Regions from separate parts of the Homo sapiens genome. Here all the other regions are linked to region 3. The links are contacts of gene promoters, found by promoter capture Hi-C in human tissues and cell types (Jung and others, 2019). All regions are on one chromosome and are shown on one strand. The core of a region is centred on a gene start or on the middle of the fragment in contact, and the rest is flanking DNA. Distances in the headings are between cores, read along the strand shown. Region 1 overlaps FLJ40288 (Putative uncharacterized protein FLJ40288). Region 2 overlaps CHCHD3 (coiled-coil-helix-coiled-coil-helix domain containing 3). Region 3 holds the start of LRGUK (leucine rich repeats and guanylate kinase domain containing). Region 4 overlaps CHCHD3 (coiled-coil-helix-coiled-coil-helix domain containing 3). Region 5 overlaps CHCHD3 (coiled-coil-helix-coiled-coil-helix domain containing 3).

What was found. Contacts are between HindIII fragments. The study calls those that stand out against the background at their distance.
Region 1: a contact is called between a fragment that was not itself captured here and the fragment with the promoter of LRGUK in region 3, in 1 of the 25 tissues and cell types used here (dorsolateral prefrontal cortex).
Region 2: a contact is called between a fragment that was not itself captured here and the fragment with the promoter of LRGUK in region 3, in 1 of the 25 tissues and cell types used here (dorsolateral prefrontal cortex).
Region 4: a fragment that was not itself captured here is called in contact with the fragment with the promoter of LRGUK in region 3 in 1 of the 25 tissues and cell types used here (dorsolateral prefrontal cortex).
Region 5: a contact is called between a fragment that was not itself captured here and the fragment with the promoter of LRGUK in region 3, in 1 of the 25 tissues and cell types used here (spleen).

The regions. Positions count from the first base shown.
Region 1 is chr7:132,712,550-132,717,098 of GRCh38, forward strand. The region is part of intron 3 of FLJ40288 (Putative uncharacterized protein FLJ40288); the gene reads left to right. Among named protein-coding and RNA genes, the nearest start is that of FLJ40288, 66 kb to the left of the region's middle. The HindIII fragment of the contact is 3,804 bases long and covers 290-4,093 here.
Region 2 is chr7:132,858,288-132,863,266 of GRCh38, forward strand. All of the region lies in intron 5 of CHCHD3 (coiled-coil-helix-coiled-coil-helix domain containing 3), which reads right to left. Among named protein-coding and RNA genes, the nearest start is that of MIR3654, 170 kb to the right of the region's middle. The HindIII fragment of the contact is 4,510 bases long and covers 1-4,463 here.
Region 3 is chr7:134,126,021-134,128,589 of GRCh38, forward strand. It overlaps LRGUK (leucine rich repeats and guanylate kinase domain containing), which reads left to right and starts at 1,320. Exons shown (of 20, transcript NM_144648.3): 1 at 1,320-1,644. The coding sequence starts at 1,348. RefSeq lists enhancers at 1,173-1,222, 1,333-1,602. The HindIII fragment of the contact is 8,230 bases long and covers 1-2,569 here.
Region 4 is chr7:133,064,158-133,069,218 of GRCh38, forward strand. All of the region lies in intron 2 of CHCHD3 (coiled-coil-helix-coiled-coil-helix domain containing 3), which reads right to left. Among named protein-coding and RNA genes, the nearest start is that of CHCHD3, 15 kb to the right of the region's middle. The HindIII fragment of the contact is 3,742 bases long and covers 1-3,325 here.
Region 5 is chr7:133,028,262-133,033,082 of GRCh38, forward strand. The region is part of intron 2 of CHCHD3 (coiled-coil-helix-coiled-coil-helix domain containing 3); the gene reads right to left. Among named protein-coding and RNA genes, the nearest start is that of MIR3654, 4.2 kb to the right of the region's middle. The HindIII fragment of the contact is 3,921 bases long and covers 1,530-4,821 here.

The sequences.
Region 1 (4,549 bases), core at 942-3,441, 1.4 Mb before region 3:
CTATCAGAAATCTTTTTTTTTTTTTTTTTTGAGACACAGTCTCGCTCTGTTGCCCAGGCTGGAGTGCAGTGGCCCGATCTTGGCTCACTGCAAGCTCCGCCTCCCAGGTTCATGCCATTCTCCTGCCTCAGCCTCCCGAGTAGCTGGGACCACAGGTGCCCGCCACCACGCCTGGCTAATTTTTTTGTATTTTTGGTAGAGATGGGGTTTCACCGTGTTAGTCAGGATGGTCTCGATCTCCTGTCTGTCAGAAATCTTTACACAAACATGCACACTCGCACACACCCACATACATCTCTATACCCCATTCCAGAGGGAGCATTCACTTTCCCTGTAATGCTCTCCCACTGTGAGTCGTGATGGCCAGTAGAGATGATGTAATAATAATTTTATTGGATCAATATATCATTTAGAAAATAAAATCTCTCCCCTTCACTGGGTGATGACCATGAGGGGAAATGCCTGTGTCTGGTCAGTAATTTATGTCTGTCAAGCACAATGAATGGGATCTCTAGCTCAATGCACTTGTCTTTGTGTTTTACTGTATACTCTATGTTTCCAGCAGTGTCTGTAAAACATCCCTCTGAAGGGCTCTCCTTTGAGCAGGAGGCAGCTCCGTCCCCCCAAGAGGTTTAGATCCCAGTCAAGCAGGGAGCTGGCCTGGCCATGGCTTTTCATTTCTTTGTGCAGCAGATGACAAGGTCAGTTTCGTTAGGCCAGTGCTTGCGAAGACACTTCTTTGCCTTCCTTAGCAAGCATTAGGAGACCCATTTTACAGATAGGGAAAACAGGGGACTAAAAGGGTAGAGCTTTCCTGCAGCCCATAAGGTTAAAAAAAAAAAAAAAAAAGGTCTTCATTTTCAACAGTAATAAAACACTCTGTCCATGCCTCTCTACAACTTTGTGGCTGGGATCAGAGCAGGAGAAGGTGGGTAGGAAACCATATCACTTTGTCATGACAGCTTCATCCAAGTCCGGAGCACAGAGCAGCTCGGCTCTCTATCTCTTTCCAAGTCCTTTCTAATCCTATCATCACATTCTGACCCATGGCCTCCCCGCCTCCATCCCCTCTTCTCTCCTGAGCTGGCAAATCCTTTGGAGCTGGCACTTCTGTGCCATATTGCTTGGTACTGTGTTCGTGTGCCGCTTTGTTTTGGTTCAAGCCAGCTCCCTGCACAATGAAATTAGAATGCCTGGGTGCTGGAGAGGGGGTTGGGGGAGAAGAGCACAGGATTAATGGCAATATGCAGGGAGACATTTAATCAATCAGGGGCTTTCTGAAAAAAACAAAAAGACAAAAATGAGAAAATGAAGGAAACCATTATTTAGCGTGTGCTGGGCACTACATTCGACTACCAAAATACAGAAACAAAAACCGCAAAGGAAATTAATTTCGTTGAAGTGGTATTGACAATAAAATAGATGCTGTCTTGTTTTGATAAATTTATATATGGTATTGCTATTCCTCTGTCTGCTGACAGTGCTTGAGTCATTTCTCCTATAGTGGAGAGTGGGCTGAGCTAAACTTCTGCACTCTCATGGCAAACTCACTTCTGAACAGGGCATCCATTCATCTACCCATTCACCCACTCAGCTTTTGAGGGGAGGAAAGGGGATGGGCCACATGATTTATGTATTCAGGACCAAATCTTATAACTAAGAGACACATTTACTAGTGAATTATTTATTGACATCTGTGATTTTAGTATTAGGTTGATACAAAAGTAAGATATACTACAGATTACTTTGTATTAAACAATAGTTTGTTTGAGCCATATGTGCCTGGAACTATTCTGAACACAAGTGGTTCGAGGATAAATAAGATAGGAAGTCCTCGTCCTCCAGATATACGACTAACATTCGCAACACAGATCTCAGGGGTTGAGTTGATCACTTTGGCCCTGTTGACCCCGGCTGAGTCAACTACTCTAGAATGAAAATAAATGGTGGGGTTTTTAAAATTTGTTTTATTTTCGTTTTTATAAAGGGCATTCAAGCTTAGAAAAACAGGAAGGCACTCAATTTTTAAAAAGCAGGCCAGGTATGGTGGCTCACACCTGTAACCCCAACACTTCGGAAGCCCAAGGCAAGAGGATTGCTTAAGGTCAGGAATTCAAGATCAGCCTGGACAACTTCGCAAGACCCCACATCTACCAAAAAATTTTTTTCGTAATTAGCTGGTTGTGGTAGATAGGAACTCCTATCTATTCCTACCTTATCTGCATTCCTAGCTACTTGGGAAGCTGAGGCAGGAGGATTGCTTGAGCACAGGAGTTTGAGGCTGCAATGAGCTATGATCGCGCCACTGCACTCCAGCCTGGGCAACAGAGAGAGACCCTGTCTCAAAAAAATAAAAAAGCAAACCTAAATCCTGTTTTTTCCATCAACTTGCCTATCCCTCCTTCAATGTGAAAGCTAAACTCAAGGGCATATCAATCATCAGCTTTACCATCCAGTCATTTTCAGGATATTCTCAAGGCTACGACCCCACCCCCAGCCCTTTCTCCTGCCACGGCATATACCAGATACCTGAAATTTCACGGCTGGTCAAAGATGTACACAAATGGAAAGTTTGGTTATCTCAGAAGCCCCTTGCCCTGGGACCCTTACTAGAGAGCTCCTTCCCCAGGAGGGCAGAGGGTACTGGGTGAGGAGAACAGGCAGATGTTTGAGTTGAACTCACAGACATCCCTCTGTGAGTGTTAGTGAAGCTCTATGAAACACAGCCCTTAGATCTCCTGTCATTCAAGAAGGATTTTTGCTTCTATTATTGTTTACCCTCCAATCACCAGTACCTAGTACTATGCTTGCCACACAGTAGAAATTCAATAAATGGGCTCTTACAGTTTTAATTTTTTCTCAAAAGGATATGCATACAGAAACAAAGCAAATCATACACAAGTGCTGTGTTGTGCAAAGGGAGTGTGGAGGCATAAGCAGCTATTGCCAGGTTGTGTAAATATACAATAGGGGTTACTAATGGAACATTTACAAGCCAGAGAAGCAGCAGAGTGTATCTGCTCCCCTGAGCACTCATCATTCTCAAAGAGGTGGGCTTAGGCTGGGCCTGGCTGGACCAGGTGCTCCAAAGGCAGGAAATGACCCCAGGGCTATCCAGATTAGTCGCTCCTCCAGCTTCCATGCACAGCAGCGGTCTCTGCACTCTTGCCCACTTCACTTCCCACAGACAATTCCTAAATCCAATCCATTTTTAATTCTTTTTGTGATTATTACTTTTTTTTTTTTTTTTTTTTTTTTTTTAAGAAACAGGGTCTCTCACCCAGGCTGGAGTGCAGAGGAGCAATCACAACTCAGTGCAACCTCCACCTCCTTGGCTCAAGGGATCCTCCCGCCTCAACCTCCAAAGTAGCTGGGACTATCAGTGCACGTGACCACGCCTGGCTTCTTCTCTTAATGCTATCAAATTTTAATGAAAGCAACTATGCCATCCATGGAATGGCAAGCATTAAACTATAAGAGAGACATCAAAACTTTTACTGCAAGAACACAGGCAAATGTCTTGCTGTGGTCGGCTTCTGGGAAGGCTGAATCATACTGAGCTGTACCCTAGATCCCTGCACTCTCACAGCTTTATCCTCCTGTTTCCTGGGCGACCTGAAGGCCCTGGTCCTCCCCTGATACTTCCAGGCCTCTGTGGGCTGCGTGTGGAGCAAAAGGGCCACCAGAGAGAGTCTGGGACTCAGACACAGCATTAGCCAATATTTGCTGTTATCATTTTATTTTCTGAGCTTGTTGAGACTTCTTTCTGTTGACAGACCTACCCATCCAACTTTCTGGAGTACTTTTCTCACAGAAGACTTTGAAAGAAAGCTTTGAAAGAAGGAACTGGGCCAGGCACGGTGGCTCACACCTGTAATCCCACTACTTTGGGAGGCCGAAGCAGGTGGATCACAAGGTCCGGAGTTCGAGACCAGCCTGGCCAACATGGTGAAAACCCGTCTCCACTAAAAATACAAAAATTAGCCGGGCATGATGGTGCGCACCTGTAGTCCCAGCTACTCGGGAGGCTGAGGCAGCAGAATCGCTTGAACCTGAAAGGCGGAGCTTGCAGTGAGCCAAGATCGTACCACTGCACTCCAGCCTGGGTGACAGAGCGAGACTGTCTCAAAAAAAAAAAAAAAAAAAAGGTAGGAAAGAAGGAACTGGTTCTGTCTAACCCATTGTCCATATCTTCAGCCATCATCTGTAGAGGTTGTACTTCCAATATGTATGGCTCATGTTTCTGCATACATTGTAGAACGTTTCTTCTGTTTCTAGGTAGTGTATTTCCTCCTCCATTGATTTTCTCTGAAGTTTCATTACATGTTCTTGATGTATTTCAAGTTCCAGAGGAAGCTTCTGAATCTCACTTTGAAGCTGTGAATTTTCAGTCGGCAAAGATGCTTGCTCAGTTTGGAGACTTTGTTTGTCCTGGAAGCTCTTCATTCATTGGATTTTCTTCACATAATTTCTTGGATTTTTTTTTTTTTTTTTTTTTGCTTTTTCCCTTCAAATCTTCTAAAGAAAACATTTAAGTTAACAGCATCCA
Region 2 (4,979 bases), core at 959-3,458, 1.3 Mb before region 3:
CCAGACCTCAGGTGATCCACCTGCTTCAGCCTCCCAAAGTGCTGGGATTACAGGCATGAGCACCTGGCATCTTCACTTTTTTCCTCTTTTCTCTTTAGTTTCACTTCTCTTGAGCCAACTTTTATTATATACCTTTCGTTCTTGACAAAAAACAAAAGTAATGATGCAATGGAAAGTTCTGCACAGCCACTAACACAACCCCTCAAGCAGATGGCGTGTGCCAGCCCTTGCCCCAATCATCCTAATTCTCTGATATCAACTTTCTGAGTTTTAGCCCTCAGTTCAACAAAGCATGAATAGCCTAGTATTGTGCCAGGTACTGGTTATACAAAGAAAAATAAATTTTTAGTCTTCAGCTCTCTGAGAGTTTGTATGTTAGAAAACTAAAGCCTTCCTGATTTAATATTGTTTAGAATATTGCCCATATCCCATCAAATCACTCTGAGGACAAGAAAGGTATAAATGCTAATAATAATATCTTTACAAATCAGTGGCGTATTTTAGCTAAGTGTTAATACAGACATTTTTTCTAAATAGTTCTTAAATCTGATCCCAGGACATGCGCTTTACATAGATTGTCTCATGCAAACCTGACAATAACTCCATCAGGTTGGTACAATTATCCCCATTTTCCAGATGAGAAAACTAAGGCCCTCCAAAATGAAATAATTTACCAGGTCATTTGAGCTTGTCTGTGGCACTGCCAGGGTCAAATCCAAGCAGCCGAGCTCCAGAGGTAATATGCTTAACAGCTACAGTACAGTGATTTGCAAATCACTGTATTAACGTACTGATTTCCAGATCACTGTATTGAATGCCTTATGAAAAGAGATCACCATCTATACAAAACAATTAGAAGGCTTTGTGTAGGAGGTGGCATTTAGCCTCTAATTGAATACTATTACCTTCCCTGAACCTACAATGAGATATTTAAAAGTTATTATATATTAAAAATTCTAATTATATATTTTACTTAGTGTAAGGGGGATGAGATTTAAGCCCATTTTAATTACAAACAAAAGCAGATCCACATGTCAGCTGTCTGTGATGCCTTTGTGGATATCCAGACACTTGTTCTTAAATCTGTATATTACAAACTGAAACAACAACAACAAAACCAGAAGAAAAGTAACACAGGAAAAATTGGCTAACAAGTCAATGAACCTGTGACTTTACTGATACAGCAATTATAAAGGTCAAAGCTTATTTTCACCCTATGTAAATTAAATTTAAATGAACTCCTAAACTATATATTACAAGATCCAGAATTAAATTTAGATTAGCCAGAGACTTTGTTTGTAGAAGACGCTCTTAATAATCTTTGGCTTTTGTCCAGCCCAGATTCCCACTTCCTCTAAAGATGATGGAGAACTGCTTCCCTGGATAAATTAGCACAACTCCTGCCTCCTTCCCCTTCAGTCCCTGTGGAGGAATTCCACTGGACTCTTGTCTTCCCTTAAGAAGTAACCCCCAGTTCAGACCTCAGGGCTGTTCAAGGTCCACTTTTCTCCTTGACCTACACTTGGTCTCTTAGCGAAGCTCTTCCAGTCTCATGGCTTTAAACTCCCCTCATGGGCTGACAACTCCCAGATCTATATACCCAGCCCAGACCTTGCCTCTGATTCCATACTCAATGGTCCAAATGTTTTATTGAAATCAATTGTATCAGAAACACCTAAAATTTAAATTGATTAAAACACAGGGCTCGGCTCGGTGGCTTACGCCTGTAATCCCAGCATTTTGGGAAGTCAGTGAGGCAGATTGCTTGGGCCCGGGAGTTCAAGACCAGCCTAGGTAACATGGCAAAACCATGTCTACACAAAAAAATACAAAAAATTAGCCAGGGGTGATGGCGCGCATCTGTAGTCCCAGCTACTCTGGAGGCTGAGGCAAGAAGATCAATTGAGCCCAGGAGGTTGTGGCGAGCCAAAATTGTGCCACTGCACTCCAGTCTGGGTGATGGAGTGAGACTCGATCTCAAAAATAAACAGATTTTTTTTTATAGATAGATAGATAGAGAGAGAGAGAAAGAGAGAGAGAGAGAGAGAACACAATCCCACATTGTTTTTTGTTTGTTTCAATGAACAAACTTATTCCTCTTGGTCTTCCTAGACTCAGTAACTGGTTCTATCTTTCACACATTTGCTGAAGCCAGAGATACAGGAATCATCTTTCTTTCTTACACCATCTTATATCCAGTCCAGCACATCAGACAATCCCCATGTTCAGGCCTTATTGGCTTCCTTTCTTCTTTAACAGGCATGTAATGGGTTTGGATTTTATTCTAACGGCTATGGAAAAGCATGGACGGTTTTCAGCAAAGAAACGATATAATCTGACTCAAGCTTTTTTTTTTTGAGACAGAGTCTCACTCTGTTGCCCAGGCTGGTGGGCAGTGACGCAATCTCAGCTCATTGCAACCTCCACCTCCTGGGTTCAAGAGATTCTCCTGCCTCGGCCTCCCAAATAGATGCGATTACAGGTGCATGCCACACCTGGCTAATTTTTGTATTTTTAGTAGAGACAAGGTTTCACCATGTTGCCTGGGCTGGTCTCAAACTCCTGACCTCAAGTGATCCACCCGCCTCAGCCTCCCAAAGTGCTGGGAATACAGGCGTGAGCCACCACTCCCGGCCCAGACTCAAGTTCTTAAAAAACCATAGCTCTTGGCTGGAAAATAGACAGTGGTGGAGGGAACAGAAGATGGACTAGACAGACAAGGGAGTGATTACAAGAGTTCAGCTAAGAGAGATGGAGGCTTGGTTTATGGTGGTAATAGACTTAAAAAACAGACAAAATTGAACTATGTTTTGGAAGTAGAATCAACAGAACTTCCTGATGAATTGGAGAGGAAGGAGGGAATGTGAGGAAAAGTGAGAACCAAAAATGTGTCGTAGATTGTGAGCTTCAGCCACTGAGTAGGTAATGGTGCCATTTCCCGAGGAAAACTGGAGGAAGACTGGTGGCTGGAGCACTCAGGACCGCTACCTCTGCTATTCTTTGGAGTGTGAGTGTGTGCTTCCTAAGTGTTTCGTCGTTAGATCACCTCATCTGAAAACCCCTCTCCTATTTTCTCTCACTGTATTCATGTTTCTTTCATCACACTTTTCATGATCTATTTTGGCTCATTTTGTTCTCTGTATTGTATTCCACTCGCTAGACTCTGAGCTCTGTGATGGTGGGAAACAGGTTCTCCTTGTTTGTTGCTTTTTCCTGTGTCCCCAGCCCATGTCTTGGAACATAGTTGGATATGTCCACAATCAATTATCCTCAGGAACTTCTAGGGGAAAAAAGATGTCTAAAGCAGGAGGTGACAAACTTTTGCCATAAAAGGCCAGAGAGTAAATATTTGAAGCTTTATGGGTCACATGGTCTCTGTCAAAGCTACTCAACTCTGTTGTAGTACGAAAGTAGCCACGGACAATACACACATAAATGAGCATGGCTGTCTTCCAATAAAACTATTTATGGACACTAAAATTTGAATTTCATAGAATTGTTGTGTCATAAAATTATTCTTTTGAATTTTTTCCCCAACCATTTAAAAATGTATAAATTATTATCAGTTTGCTGATGCCTGGTCTATCCAAATTTTAAGCCTCAGGTGTCAAGGAATAGAAAGGTAAGAAAATGTTAAACTGGATGATTAGTATAAATTGTATTAAAGAACTTATACTACCATAAAATAATCCCTATATTCCTTCCCACTAACCTACTGTACCTTAAGAAAAAGGAATCATGTCTATGAATCTTGAAATCCAGCACTTAATGTTTGCTGATGGATGGATGGATGGATGGATGGATGGATGGATGGATGGATGAAATGAAGGAAGGAAGGAGGGAAGAAAGAAAGGAGGGAAAGAAGAAACGAATGAAATAAGGCAAGGGAGGGGAGGGAAAGAAGGGAGAGGAACAGAGAGAGAGAGATGGAGAAATGAGGGGAGAGAAAGAGGGAGGAAATACTTTTATTTTACAACCACCATATCACTGGAATAGGAAAACTGAATACAGGCATACTTTGGAGATACTGCAGGTTTGGTTTCACACTATCACAATAAAGTGAGTCATGCAAACTTTTTGGTTTCCCAGTGCGTATAAAAGTCATGTTTATAATACACTGTAGTCTGTTAAGCGTGCAATAGCATTATGTCAAAAAAAGTACATAATCTTAATTTAAAAATACTTTATCACTAAAAAATGCTAACAATCATCTGAGCCTTCAGCAAGTCACACTGGTGGAGGGTCTTATCTCGATATTGATGGCTGCGGTGGTGGCCAAATGGCATGGCTATGACAATTTCTTAAATAAGACAACAATGAAGTTTGCCACATCAATTCATTCTCAGGGGAGAGTTTTCAGTAGCATGTGATGCTGTTTAATAGCATTTACATAGAGTAAAACTTCTTTCAAAATTCAAAATTATCTCAAACTCTGCTGCTGCTTTACCAATTAAGTTCATGTATTATAATATTCTTAGTTCTTTCCTGTCATTTCAGCAATATTCACATCATCTTTACCAACAGTAGACTCTATCTCAAGAAACCACTTTCTTTGCTCATCATCTGTTCAAGTTTGCTCCTCAAACATTAAAAGTTTCATCATGAGATTGCTGCAATTCAGTTCCATCTTTGGGCTCCACTTCTAATTCGAGTTCTGTTGCTATTTCCACCACATCTGCAACTCCTTCCTCCACTGAAGTGTTGAACCCTTTCAAGCCATCCATAATTGGAATTAACTTCTTCCAAACTCCTGTTAACTGATATTTTGACCTCTTCCCATGAATCACGAATGTTCTTAATGGCATCTAGAATGGTAACTCTTGCCCGGAAGGTTTTCAATGTACTTTTCCCAGATCATTCAAGAGAAATCACTATCTATGGCAGATATGGCCTTATAATACGTATTTCTTAAATAGTAAGACTTGAGGGTCAAAATTACTCCTTGATCCACAGGCTGTAGAATGGACATTAGCAGGCAT
Region 3 (2,569 bases), core at 70-2,569:
AAAACGATCGAGATTTGCATTTTTACACTTTCTGCCTGATTCTTCCCTATGTCACTTAGCCGAAGCCAGGCCCTACGAGGGTAAGGGTGGGGAAAATTCCCTTGGAGGAATCTCTACTTATTGGAAAAAGAAATAAGCAAAAAGCAAGATGAGCCTGGCAGAAAGAGATATTTTGCTTGTGGCCTTTACATTTATGACTAGCAAGATAATGAAGGAAGGTAATTCTGAAAGCTTTATGTCAGTTTTAACGGTCCCTCAAGCACTGAGAAAGATAATCGTCAATGGATGGTGTCCATAAGGATTTTTTCTCCTTCTCCCCTGACAGCCATTGACAGGATCATTTTGTATTTGCAACTGCTGTCATTGAAGCGTGCAGAAAAGGCCCTGTAAGGCCAGAAGGATGAGGGCTACTTCCCTGCAAGGATCTCTATTGTCATCACTATGGCAATAATAGTTACTATAATTTTCATTCTGCTTTTCTATAGAGTGTCGACGTTGTGGAGCTTAAGGCTATGGGATTTGGGTCACATAAAATCACACTAGCATAAAATCGTGCTTTGTTATCTTGAAAGAGTATTTTTTTTAACTGCAAAGAGAGCCTGTGCAACAAGATTAAAATAATTGCCAATGCAGGTCACTTGACTAATATAATTATTTATGGGATGCTAATAGCTTTTCAGACGCTTTCAGATACAGTGTCAATTTGACAGCAGTTTTTTCTCTCTCTGTTTGGATTGTAAGACCACTGCCAGTTTTTCTCCCCAAGGACAAGGCTTATCATTGGGGGGTGGGGGTGGGGAATGTAAATTAATTGGAAATCAGCTCTCAGGCGTCGTCTGGTAGTTTCTCTTTATTATCTGCAATTAAATCATAAGGACAGGAACCATGCCTTCTATTTCACTTATATGCACCCTCATCTCCTAGCGTCGCGCTTTGCATAAATTTCAGTGGTACTAGCTTTCCTACAGACTGCTTTAGAGACATTAGACACTTCTAAAGTACGACTCTGCGGAAAGAGCCCTTTGGGAATGAAGCGGCAACGGTGGCGCACCTGCGATCCTATCGTGGGATGACAAAGCTCTAAGAGGGGTCTCAGGGTAGGGAGGAAACAGCTGGAGACAAAGAAAGGGGGTGTAGCGAAAAGAGGTGAAAACAGGAAAGATAAGCGAACAGAACAGACCAAAGAGAGAAAAATAACAGAAGAGACTGAGAAAAAGAAAAGTCAAGTGGAGCGCCCACTGCCCCGCCTGCAGAAGGCGAGTACGCGCGGAGGAGACTACAGGCCCCAGAATCCTCCGCGGTTCCCCTTGCCTGGGGTCAGTCTCCTAGGCAACCCCGCTAAACAAGATGGCGACCTCCGAGAGGGCTCTCCTGAGGACCAGAGCTGCCTCTCTCCTGAGAGGCTTGGGCAGATCCCGAACTGGAGCCCGATCGTTACAGTTTCGCGCAGAAAAAGAGCGTCAGCCTTGCTGGTCTTTTCCCATGGGGCAGAAGACGAAAGGCAGCTCTAACATAGCCTCCTCCTACCTGCTCCAGCAGCTCATGCACCGCTATCAGGAGCTGGACTCGGACGGAGATGAGGACCAGGGCGAGGGCGAGGCGGGATCCGAGGAGTCCTCAGAGTCCGAAATGCTGAATTTGGAGGTGTGTCTTCCCCCCCACCCCGTACTCCCTGGCTCCCTCGTCCAGCCCTGTTACTTCAGCGGCAGCTCCCCGATGCACCCCCACCAGCCCGAAGCTTCCCACACCTTCTCAGGCTCTCTCGCCTCCAGGAACGCCTCTTCCCCCTCTTTTCTTCCCCTGTCTTTTACCCCGTTTTCTCACCCCCTGCCTGAAATAGCTCTAAATAGTTCCTTTCTTTTTTCATTAACACATTTGATTTCTTATGAGTCGAGTTAACACAGCGTCACTTTGTAAGAGTGTCTAGATAATTGTCTGGGAATTATGGCTTTAGCTTTTTCAAAATTATACTTTGACAGTATTGTGAATAGGCAGAGTTCATCTCTGACATTGCCAGCACCTGTTGCCCATGGCTATGACATACTTCCACACTCTTCCTCAGTTCTAGTCCCGTCAGCCTCCCTCCAGGAAAAAAAAAAAAAAAAAAATCCGCTTTTGAAAGTGCTTCTTCAAAGACTAAGTGACTTAAAAGTTGAATACATTACTTCTGTCGGGGGCATATGCCTTATACAAGCAACATGCACACACACCAGAAAAGAGCCTTATAATGTTCGAACAGCCAGCTCATTGTGGGAATATTTTAGGATGTGGGGAATGTTCCCATCATCCCACCCATATTGACTGGGATGGCGGCTTCGCGTTTCACATGACTGCCATTCCCTCCTTTCTACAATATCTCTTCTGACCACCACACAATTCCTCTTCTTTCTTATGCTTATTATGGTCCTTTTCCTTTCTTAGTCCATTGTTGTCTTCTTGTCCTTTTCCACTTCTCATCACATCACTTCTTTTCTCTTGGCTTCTAATAAATTGCTTTCTTTCAAAAGCGTAATTTAATTTGCTTCCTTTCTATTTTGTTTATGTTTTTGAGATGGAGTCTGGCTTTGTC
Region 4 (5,061 bases), core at 205-2,704, 1.1 Mb before region 3:
CTAGTAATTCCTTGAAGGTCAAAGATGGCGGCCATGCTAACACTTGTTGACTGATGGAACCAACCATGAGTTCTTCAACCCTAGACTGTTGGCAGATTTCTTTTTCAGAGCAGAATATGCTGACTTAGAGAATTAGATTTAATGCCTTTAATTCAATAGCAATTAGGTTTCTTACTATTAGGAACAGTCAGGCAAATCAACCATTACAGCCCACAAAAAAAGTACACAGTTGAGACACTGGCATCCACAAAGTTTCACATATTAAAAGTTGGAAACCTAGATGTTCAGTTCTTGTAACTCGAGTCAAAGGAATAAGCTTATTTTCTCTGAACTCTCCCTACAGTGTTATGTCTAAATGAGCCTTAAAGAGCTGTTTAAAAATAACTAGGAGGGCCAGATTCTGGGAGAAAAATACACAGAACTTATACATGAATCTGTTTCCCAAAATTGGCTGTTTAGTTTAGGCTGTGTTATTTCCTGCTCAAATTGGTTTCCTGCAATTTGTTAAGGCTGCCAAATACTTAGTGATCTCAGTGATATACTTAACACAAACTGGCAAATCTTTCTTATTTTTCACAATGACGAGAAATTTACAGAGAAACTTCTACAGTGAGGATGATAATAAAAGTTAGGTCATTTGTCTTGTTTTTTTCCAGATTCATCATTTTTATCTGGTTGCCAGTAGCTTACGAAAACAACAAAACATCTCCTAATATCATTTCCTGTCTGTTTCTTCATATTGATTTGGGGACAGATTCTTCAGCGGTAGGTAGGGTCAACCATGAGAGGTCTGACCTCATTATAAGCCAGAAAAACTAAAAGATCAGGTTGAAAGGAAACAATCAGCACCCAAAATTGATTTTTTAAAATCAAAAGATGCAAGATGTTAATGAAAAGGTAAGTTTATAACTATATGCAATGACATCTCCTTATGTCAGCCTAAGAAAAAAATTATCTGGTATAAAAGCAAACCAATATAGTTGAGATAACGCAGCAAAAAAATTGAGGCAGCAAGGACACAGTTAAGTTATTGAGAGCACATTCATTTATTAAAGTGGCATTACAATCTGCTGTGTGTCACACAGTATATTATTTTGCCCAAACAGCTTTACATGCGAATACTTACTGCAACGAGCCACTGATCTGGTTCAAGGTTTAGCAAAAAAATTATATTTTTTATGAAAAAAAAGTTTCAGTAAAGTCTTCAGAGGAACCCACTTTCTTATAGTATAAAATGTATTCTCAAAACTATTTTTATGACAAAATTGAGTTCCTATATACAGAAATCCTAGGGCTCTCAGTTCATCAAATACACTGCCCTATATTCACACATATGAATAGCCTAGGGCTGGTATGACTAAGAGTCCTGTGAGAAAGAAGGCTTTTTAATAAATACTTAAAATTTAACTCACATTTAATATATAATTTACTTCACACTGAAAAATGTAAAAAAGGCGAGTGACATTTTTATCAATACATTTTTGTAGGCTTGAAAAATTATTTCATAACACATCTAAATTTTAAATCCTAAGAAATCTATTATTGAGTACTAACTAAAACTCCTAAATGAGACAAACTCAGAACAAAACATAAATGTTCAAGCTTCATGCTTTTATAAGCCTATTTTTTTAATTCTAAGAAGAATAAATCTTTGTTAATTTACACATAGTTGAATTGCATTCTTAACCTAAAGCAAGATCATTTCAAAATAGCATGCCAAATTTTAGTTCTTTTCTTGGGTTAGGTTGGAAAGGGTGAGAGAAATCATGTACTCAAAGAACCTGTCCTATGAGCCTTGTTGAGTCTTTTTCACATCATGGTGCAGATAGAAAATAAAAAGCACTGGTGTGTTCCAGATCAGAGCTATGCAACAGAACTGTCTGCAATAATAGAAATGCCCTATATCTACACTTTCCAATATGGTAGTCAAAAGCCACATGCGGTTACTGAGCATAAAATGTGAAGAGTGCAACTTCAGAGCTAAAGTTTTCATTTGATCGACTTAATTTTCACTTAACTTTTAAGAGCCACATGTGACTAGTGGCTACCATTTGGAAAGTGTAGTTCTAGCCTGACCACTAAAACACAAGATGGCATACTTTTTTTTTTTTTTTTGAGATGGAGTCTCACTCTGTTGCCCAGGCTGAAGTGCAGTGGCACAATCTCGGCTTACTGCAACTTCCGCCTCCCAGGTTCAATCGATTCTCATGCCTCAGTATCCTGAGTAGCTGGGATTACAGGCATGTGCCACCACGCCCAGCTATTTTTTGTATTTTTAGTAGAGATAGGGATTCACCATGTTAGGCAGGCTGGTCTCAAACTCCTGACCTCAGGTGATCCTCCCACCTCAGCCTCTCAAAGTGATGGGATTACAGGCATGAGCCACCAAGCCTGGCCCACAAGATGGCATTCTAAGAGCTTTCAGTGCCCAGGCTGGTCACAGCTGGTCATGGACCAAAGAGTTCATCAGTCATTTCAAATGGGGAGTGAGAAGGGATGGGTCCCTCAGCAAAGCCAGAACTCTTCACATCAGTGGCATGCTCTTCGGGCCAGACACACCACAGGCACTCATAGAAAACCTCCCGACCCATCCCCACTCTCTCGAAATATCAAAACAACCCAAGAGAGAAAACATTTTCTCTCCTTCCACTCAGGCCAATATGGGAAAAAGCTAGAACAACCAACAATTACTTATAGACAACGGGTTCTTTCCTTAGTTCAAGCAGAACATCACTAAAAAGCAGCTCCTTCATTCCAACTAGTTTCTATCACGTCCTTTCTAAAGCAAGATGTCATTCAAATTAAAATAAGACAAAGTGGTTAACAGCATTTGCTCTGGAGTCAGACAAACTTGAATGTAACTCTCATCTCCATTGCTCACCAGCTGTGTGACTTTGGGCAAAATAATTAATCACTTCAAGTCTCAGTTTCTTTCTACATAAAATGGGTTATCACAGGTCCTTCTTCATAGGGTTATAAGGATGAAATGAGATAAGACGTACACAGGATTTAGCAGAGTACCTACAATGTAATAAATTTTAAGTGTCATCTATCATTACTTCAGTATATTGAATCATCATGATCATCACGCTAACTCCGTAACACAGGAGGTAGGAAAAAAAATCTACCTACAACAAATCATACTTTAGAACAAATTCCAATTTTAAATGTATCCATATATCATCATTCTTTTTTTAACACCAAGAAAATGTTTTAATTAAACTACAGAAACAATGGTTATAGCACAGAATATTCATAAGCAAAAAGATACACGTCATAAGTACTTACAAAGTTACAAACCATTTGCTCCCTTAACATTTTCCGTATTTTAAGTTCATACATGTAGATAAGAACAGATTCACCATTTTGAGGAAGAGGAGGAAGCAAAGGTATATTTATCATCAGCTAGATGTGCTCACTGTATGCAGTGGTATTTATATGCAAGACCCGAGTGACTGGAAGTGCAGTTGTTGGGCATTTTAATAAACTGGACAGCCATTTGTTTCTGCACGACAAGGCATCTTCTTAAGCCAAAATATTTGATAAACTTATTTTCAGTATCTCCTAGGTTTCTTTTATACTATGTTTCTACCTCCCTTACAGTCTTGTTATATATGTAGTTTATCTGTCAAAAAAAACTTTTTCCTATTTTTGCATCTTTTCAAAATACCTGGCTTGGCCGGGCACGGTGGCTCACGCCTGTAATCCCAGCACTTTGGGAGGTCGAGGCGGGCGGATCACGAGGTCAGGAGATTTAGACCATCCTGGCTAACACGGTGAAACCCCGTCTCTACTAAAAATATAAAAAATTAGCCGGGCGTGGTGGTGGGAGCCTGTAGTCCCAGCTACTCAGGAGACTGAGGCAGGAGAATGGCATGAACCCAGGAGGCGGAGCTTGCAGTGAGCCAAGATCACGCCACTGCACTCCAGCCTGGGAGACAGCGAGACTCCATCTCAAAAGAAAAAAAAAAATAAAAACGTGGCTTATTTATTTACATAATAGAAACATTCAATATATGTCACCTGAATTAAATGTATAGAACTCTCCAGAATGAACAAAAGTAGCTACTTTTAAAATGGATAATGCCCTTAAATTAATTCAACAAACGATAATAAGCACTTACTAAGAAGCAGGTTACACTATCCTAGGAGCTAAGAATTCAGCTGTGAACAAACAAATGAGGAATAAGGTCCCTGGAGCTTCTCTTCTAGTGAAGATAGCAGTCACAGTGAATAAGTAGAGGAAAGGTGATAGGAGATGATGAATAATGTGATGATGTTGGAAGGCAGAGAGGGACCAGTCATGATATATGATGGAAGCCCAGGGAAGCAGCTCAGACTATATTCTGTGTACCATGGAGAGCCACCACTGGGACATGACTTGACCTGATTTGCTTTTCTTCAAAAGATTGTGAGGACTTCTGTGTGCACAGCACAGGGGGAAAGAGTGAAGCAGGGAGCCAGTTAAGAGACTTCCACAGAAGACGACAGTTATCTATCTGGATTGGAGATATAGCAGAGGAGACAGATGCAAAAGGAACATATTTAGACATGTTTTAGAGATGGAGTTGACAAGACTAGCTAACAGTCTGATGTAAGGTGTAAGGAAAAAAGAAAACAAGGATGAATCCCCAATTGGGGACCTGACTACCTGTGCCATTTAGTGGGAAAGACAGAGAAGAAAAGCAAGTCTGGGGGTGAAAATAAAGGTTGATTTGGGATATGTCAAGTTGAGGAATCTGTAAGGGGAGATTTTAAGTAGGCAGTTGTCTATTATAATGTCTGGAATTTCAGGGAAAGGTCAGGGCTAGAGATATAATTTTGGGAGTCACAGGCATCTAGATAACGATTTCAAAACCGTATATTGGGACAAGATTACTTAGTAGAAATCAACAAAGAACCCTGGACTGAGGGTTGCAAGTAGGGTGAAAGGAAAACCAAGAGTGTGGTCCAGAAGCCAAAACAAGGGTTTCTAACAAGGAAGGCATGCTCACTTTCTATCTAGCGTTAATTAACTGTGAATCCTCAACTCTCCTACTAAACAAGAAGCTTCAAAGGGGC
Region 5 (4,821 bases), core at 2,240-4,739, 1.1 Mb before region 3:
TCTCAATCAAAATTCAATTTAATTTAATTCAATTAAAACTAGGCTTCTGTAAAACCTCAGAGAGTAACTATGATGCACTGGGATCAGTGTTCTAAGTAAACTAATAAAATTGTATCACATCTTTCTTATTGTTGTCTTGGGTTTTTTGTCTGTTTGTGCTTATGGCTTGAATGTTTCTCCCCTTCAAAACTCACATTGAAACTTAATTCCCACTGTGGCAGTATTGAGAGGTGGGGCCCTTAAGAGGTGAGACTGGGACATGAGGGTTCATGAATGGGTTAATCCATGCATGGATTAATGGTTTATCATGATAGTGGGACTGGTACCTTAAAAAGAAAAAGAAGGCCAGGTGCGGTGGCTCACGCCTATAATCCCAACACTCTGAGAGGCTGAGGTGGGCAGATCACGAGGTCAGGAGTTTGAGACCAGCCTGACCAACATGGTGAAACCCTGTCTCTACTACAAATACAAAAATTAGCCAGACATGGTGGTGCACACCTGCAATCCCAGCTACTCAGGAGGCTGAGGCAGGAGAATCGCTTGAACTCGGGAGGCGGAGGTTGCAGTGAGCCAAGATCACATCACTGCACTCCGGCCTGGGCGACAGAGTAAGACTCCATCTCACAAAAAAAAAAAAAAAGAAAAGAAAAGAAAAAGAAGAGAGAGCTGGACTAGCATACTGAGCCCCTCACCACGTGATGCCCCGCATGACCTAGGGATTCTACAGGAGTCCCCACCAGTAAGAAGACCCACACCATATGCAGCCCTTCAACCTTGGACTTCAAAGCCTCCATAACATTAAGTAACAAATTTCTTTTCCTTATAAATTACCCAGTTTTACGTATTCTGTTATAAGCAACAGAAAAGAGATTAAGCAGTTTGGTTTTTCCAGCTTTATTAAGGTATAATTGACAAATAGAATCATATATATTCAAGGTGAACTATGTGATGATTTGATATGAATCATGTAATGATTACCACAAATATATCGAGCACCACACAGTTACCATTGGGGTGGGGAACATTGGGGACACTTAAAATTTGTTCTCTTATGAAATTTCAAGTAAAAAATATTATTAACTAAAGTCACCATCTTATAACTGAAAGCTTGTACTCTTTGATCAACATCTCCCTATTTCCCCATCCCACATCCCCTGGTAATCACTCTTTTACTCTGCTTCCTAGAGCTCAACTTTTTTAGATTCCACATATAGGTAAGAACATACAGTATTTGTCTTTCTGTGTCTGGCTTATTTCACTTGGCACAATGTCATATCTTCATAGTGCACTTTATGCCTATAACATAGGGATGTCTTCCTACCAGAGGAAAAGCTCAAATCAGCAGCGAGCTGTTTATTCCAGTGTGATCAAACGGTGACCAGCTGGGTGGATAGGCACGAAGCCATCCAGGTGAGAATGTGGAGAGGAAGTGGTTTGGGGTGAAGAAAATGCAGACTGGAGGCTTGCTGTTTCCTTCTCTATCCCCTTCTCCCTACTATCATCAGCCCTGCCACTTGCTGTGGGGTGAGGTGAGAAAGAGATACAGATTACAGGTGGCATCGTCCAGGTAGGCCATGAGAGGAGAGAAAAACGTGGGAAGAGGACAACAACAGCAATGAAAGGGACAGGAACACTCCCATGGCCACTGAAAAAGACATGTCCAAGTGACCAGCTGGTTGACATCACTTTTGGTCCATAAAGGAGCCAAAGCACAGCTATCTTTCTAATGCCCTACCTATTTCCAGAAAAGGAAAAAAAAAAAAAATCACAACTTTTGGGTCAAGTCCAAGGTCACAACTGAAAAAGTAATTACCTTAGCTACAAATGAGAAGTTAAAATAACAGAAAATAAAAACATGACCTAGCATAAAGAGTTTGAAATCTAAAATAGCAAATCAAAGCACAGCCAGGAAAATAAACCAGTGAGGTAATGGGTTCTGAGCACATCTAAGCTTCATGGTATTTGTTTTTAAATCAATAGAATACATAAAGCAATACTGTATTTCTTCTGATAGGTCTGACCCAAAGTGCATGAGGGAAAAAGATACAGCATTTGGAGACCACTATTTAAAATGGCCTTTCTGAAAACACTCTTTTCAGCTCCCAGGATCTGAACATTTTCTCAAATAAAACTGTTATTAAACTAAAAGGTCAGTGTTTCAGGAAGGGCTAGTTTAAGAGAAGCACAAGAAAGGCCAACTTTGCCTATTAGCACAGTGAGTTTCCAAGCAAATCTTTGGGAACTGGCAAAGTTTGTGAAATGAGAAAAGGAGTAAAAACAAAAAAATGTTCAAGCAATATAAATCCCATTTGCCATGGAAATTTGCAAAACTATTTCAAGTTCAGTAAGTATGGTTCCATGGCTTTTATATACACACATACTCTCCTTTTAGAAATGTGTTAAGACAAAAGAATGTTTTCTTTCCATACTTGTATAGTCTGTACTTTTTAAAATTCTTCTCAGAAACCATTTTAATTTCTTTCTCAATGGTGAATGTATCTTAAAGAACACAAACACTGGCATTTTGTCAATTAGTTATAGATATAAACACTGATCATAAAACATGTCAGAAAAAGCCAAGCATTGCAATTGCTTAGTTCTAGCAAGTGTGGCTCTAAACCATTTACTTGAAACCATTACTGAAAATAATAAATACTTGGATGATTGAAAGCAGCTCTGGATTCCTAACAAATTTTTGTTTGTCTTTACTAAACAATATTCTAAACAAATGCTTTGGCTAGTCCAAGGGTCTTCTTTAAGGTTTGCCTAGGAATCTTTTGACCCACTTAGCCACCAAAATTTCTGGGCTATAAATTTGAGTTCAGGATCAAATAAGAAAGTCCAAGATTCCTAAACTTATACTTGATCCTGAGTATTCTTAGGAAATGTGAGGAAATTCTTATTCCTCAAAGAAAGTGTAACATAAGTTCAATACACATCACCTGTCTTCTATGTGACAGGTGATGCTCAAATTCCTGTGTTTACCGAAACTGGTTAAACTAAAGATATGAAGGGAGGGAATGGTACGGGGAGACATAATTATACATTTTAGATAGATCCTTGAATGGTGAATAGAAATGACTCCAAAAGATGGAAGGACTTGATGAACTCATCAACCATGAAAAACAGAAGACTGAAAATGCAACCATGATCTGAAATATACATAGATTCCCTGAACCTCAAGGAACATACTAATTTCCTTTGTAACTTTTCCCACTTGTAATTCCCTTTTACTTCATTTTTTTTTTGCATAATCCTTACACTATAATTCCCTCCCCAATTACAGTATTTCTTAAACAATCTCTTTAAGTTGCTTAATAAAAGTTATACCTTGCTTCTTAGAGAAATATCAGTTCCTTTGGGATTTTTCCTTTAATGTATTTTTCTTTCTGGTTTCACCATTTGCTGATATAGGTCATGGCCAATTTTGTAAAGTCTATTATTTTCATGTGCTAGTTTAAACACACTAAAGAGAAACCATGAAGATCTTCCAAGAGAACAAAATAAATATATGTACCTGCATAATATAAGCAGCAGATTTCAGATAAAGACTCTGATTCTCCCAGGATTGAGATAGTTGAGCAAAAAGTTATACCATAAGATATAGCCAAATTAAATTTTCAGCTCAATAGAAATACTCATTAATCTTATAATTTCAATAAATTCATTAAAATGAAGAGCAATTATTGTTTAAGAAAATAATAATCAAAGCATCCATGCAATCAATGAAATACAACACCAAGTATATTAGAGCTAAATGACTAACAGCATAGGTTACAGGATAAATCTTGTCCTGCTCCTTATCTTCTAAAAGCTACAGGGTTTGATTGGAAGAAGAGCCAAAAGATGACTAGGATAAATCTCAAGAGTTAGAAATAAACATGTTTATTATCCATTTGTGGCACCATTTAGTTGGCAGACAAATAAACCTGATTTAAACCAGGCACACAGAGAATATAGGTATATTCAGCTGACAGTTACCTTCACCATCCTATAAGGAGAATGTATCTTAAGAGTGCCTTCAAAACAAATGGCATCTGTCTACTACCTGGCAGGGGTAACTGTGGCTACTTACGCATTAAAGTTAATGAAGATGGTAGAATGAAAGTTCTGCACTGCACATTCATAATCATAAATACTGTACCAGAAGGCAGTGTTAGGAAGAGTTTGGCAACCTGAACATCAACAGCATCAAGTTAATGGCTTATTTTGTAGCATTATCACTCCATCAGGATGTATATACCTTTGTAAATTTCTCATCTGAATGGCATATTACGCAAATAATGTTCATTTTATTGTTTGCTTCACAATAAGCACCCATAGAAACTAGCTCCATGTTCCATTCCATGTAGGAAAGAAAACATCAATACTGGGCTATAGCCGTATAGCAAGAGATAAGCTCGTAATTCATATTCTACAGTTTAGACATCTTAAGTAGACAATTCCTAAAACCCGTATTGAGAATCAGATATATCTAGTATTTCATGTCTTAATATTCTGAATAATAGTTGCAAGATCTCACACAGCCTCCAGGAAAATAAGATCTATAATTTAAATTAAAAAATAATAATTACCTTTGGATATTGCTTTCTGATACATAGCTTAATTTTTTTGTTTCAAAAATGATTATATTTTGTTCACTGGAGATAAAACTATAATACAGTGTTAACTCTCCAAACTAAATGAAGTACAGAAACCACCCAAGCTCTTTTCCATTTCACGCAAATGGTCCTGTGTGACCAAGAAAAGTAATCAATATAATGCCCTAAGTGTAATATTTAAATAAAACAAGCTAATTTATAATAAAATAATGGCATCTCA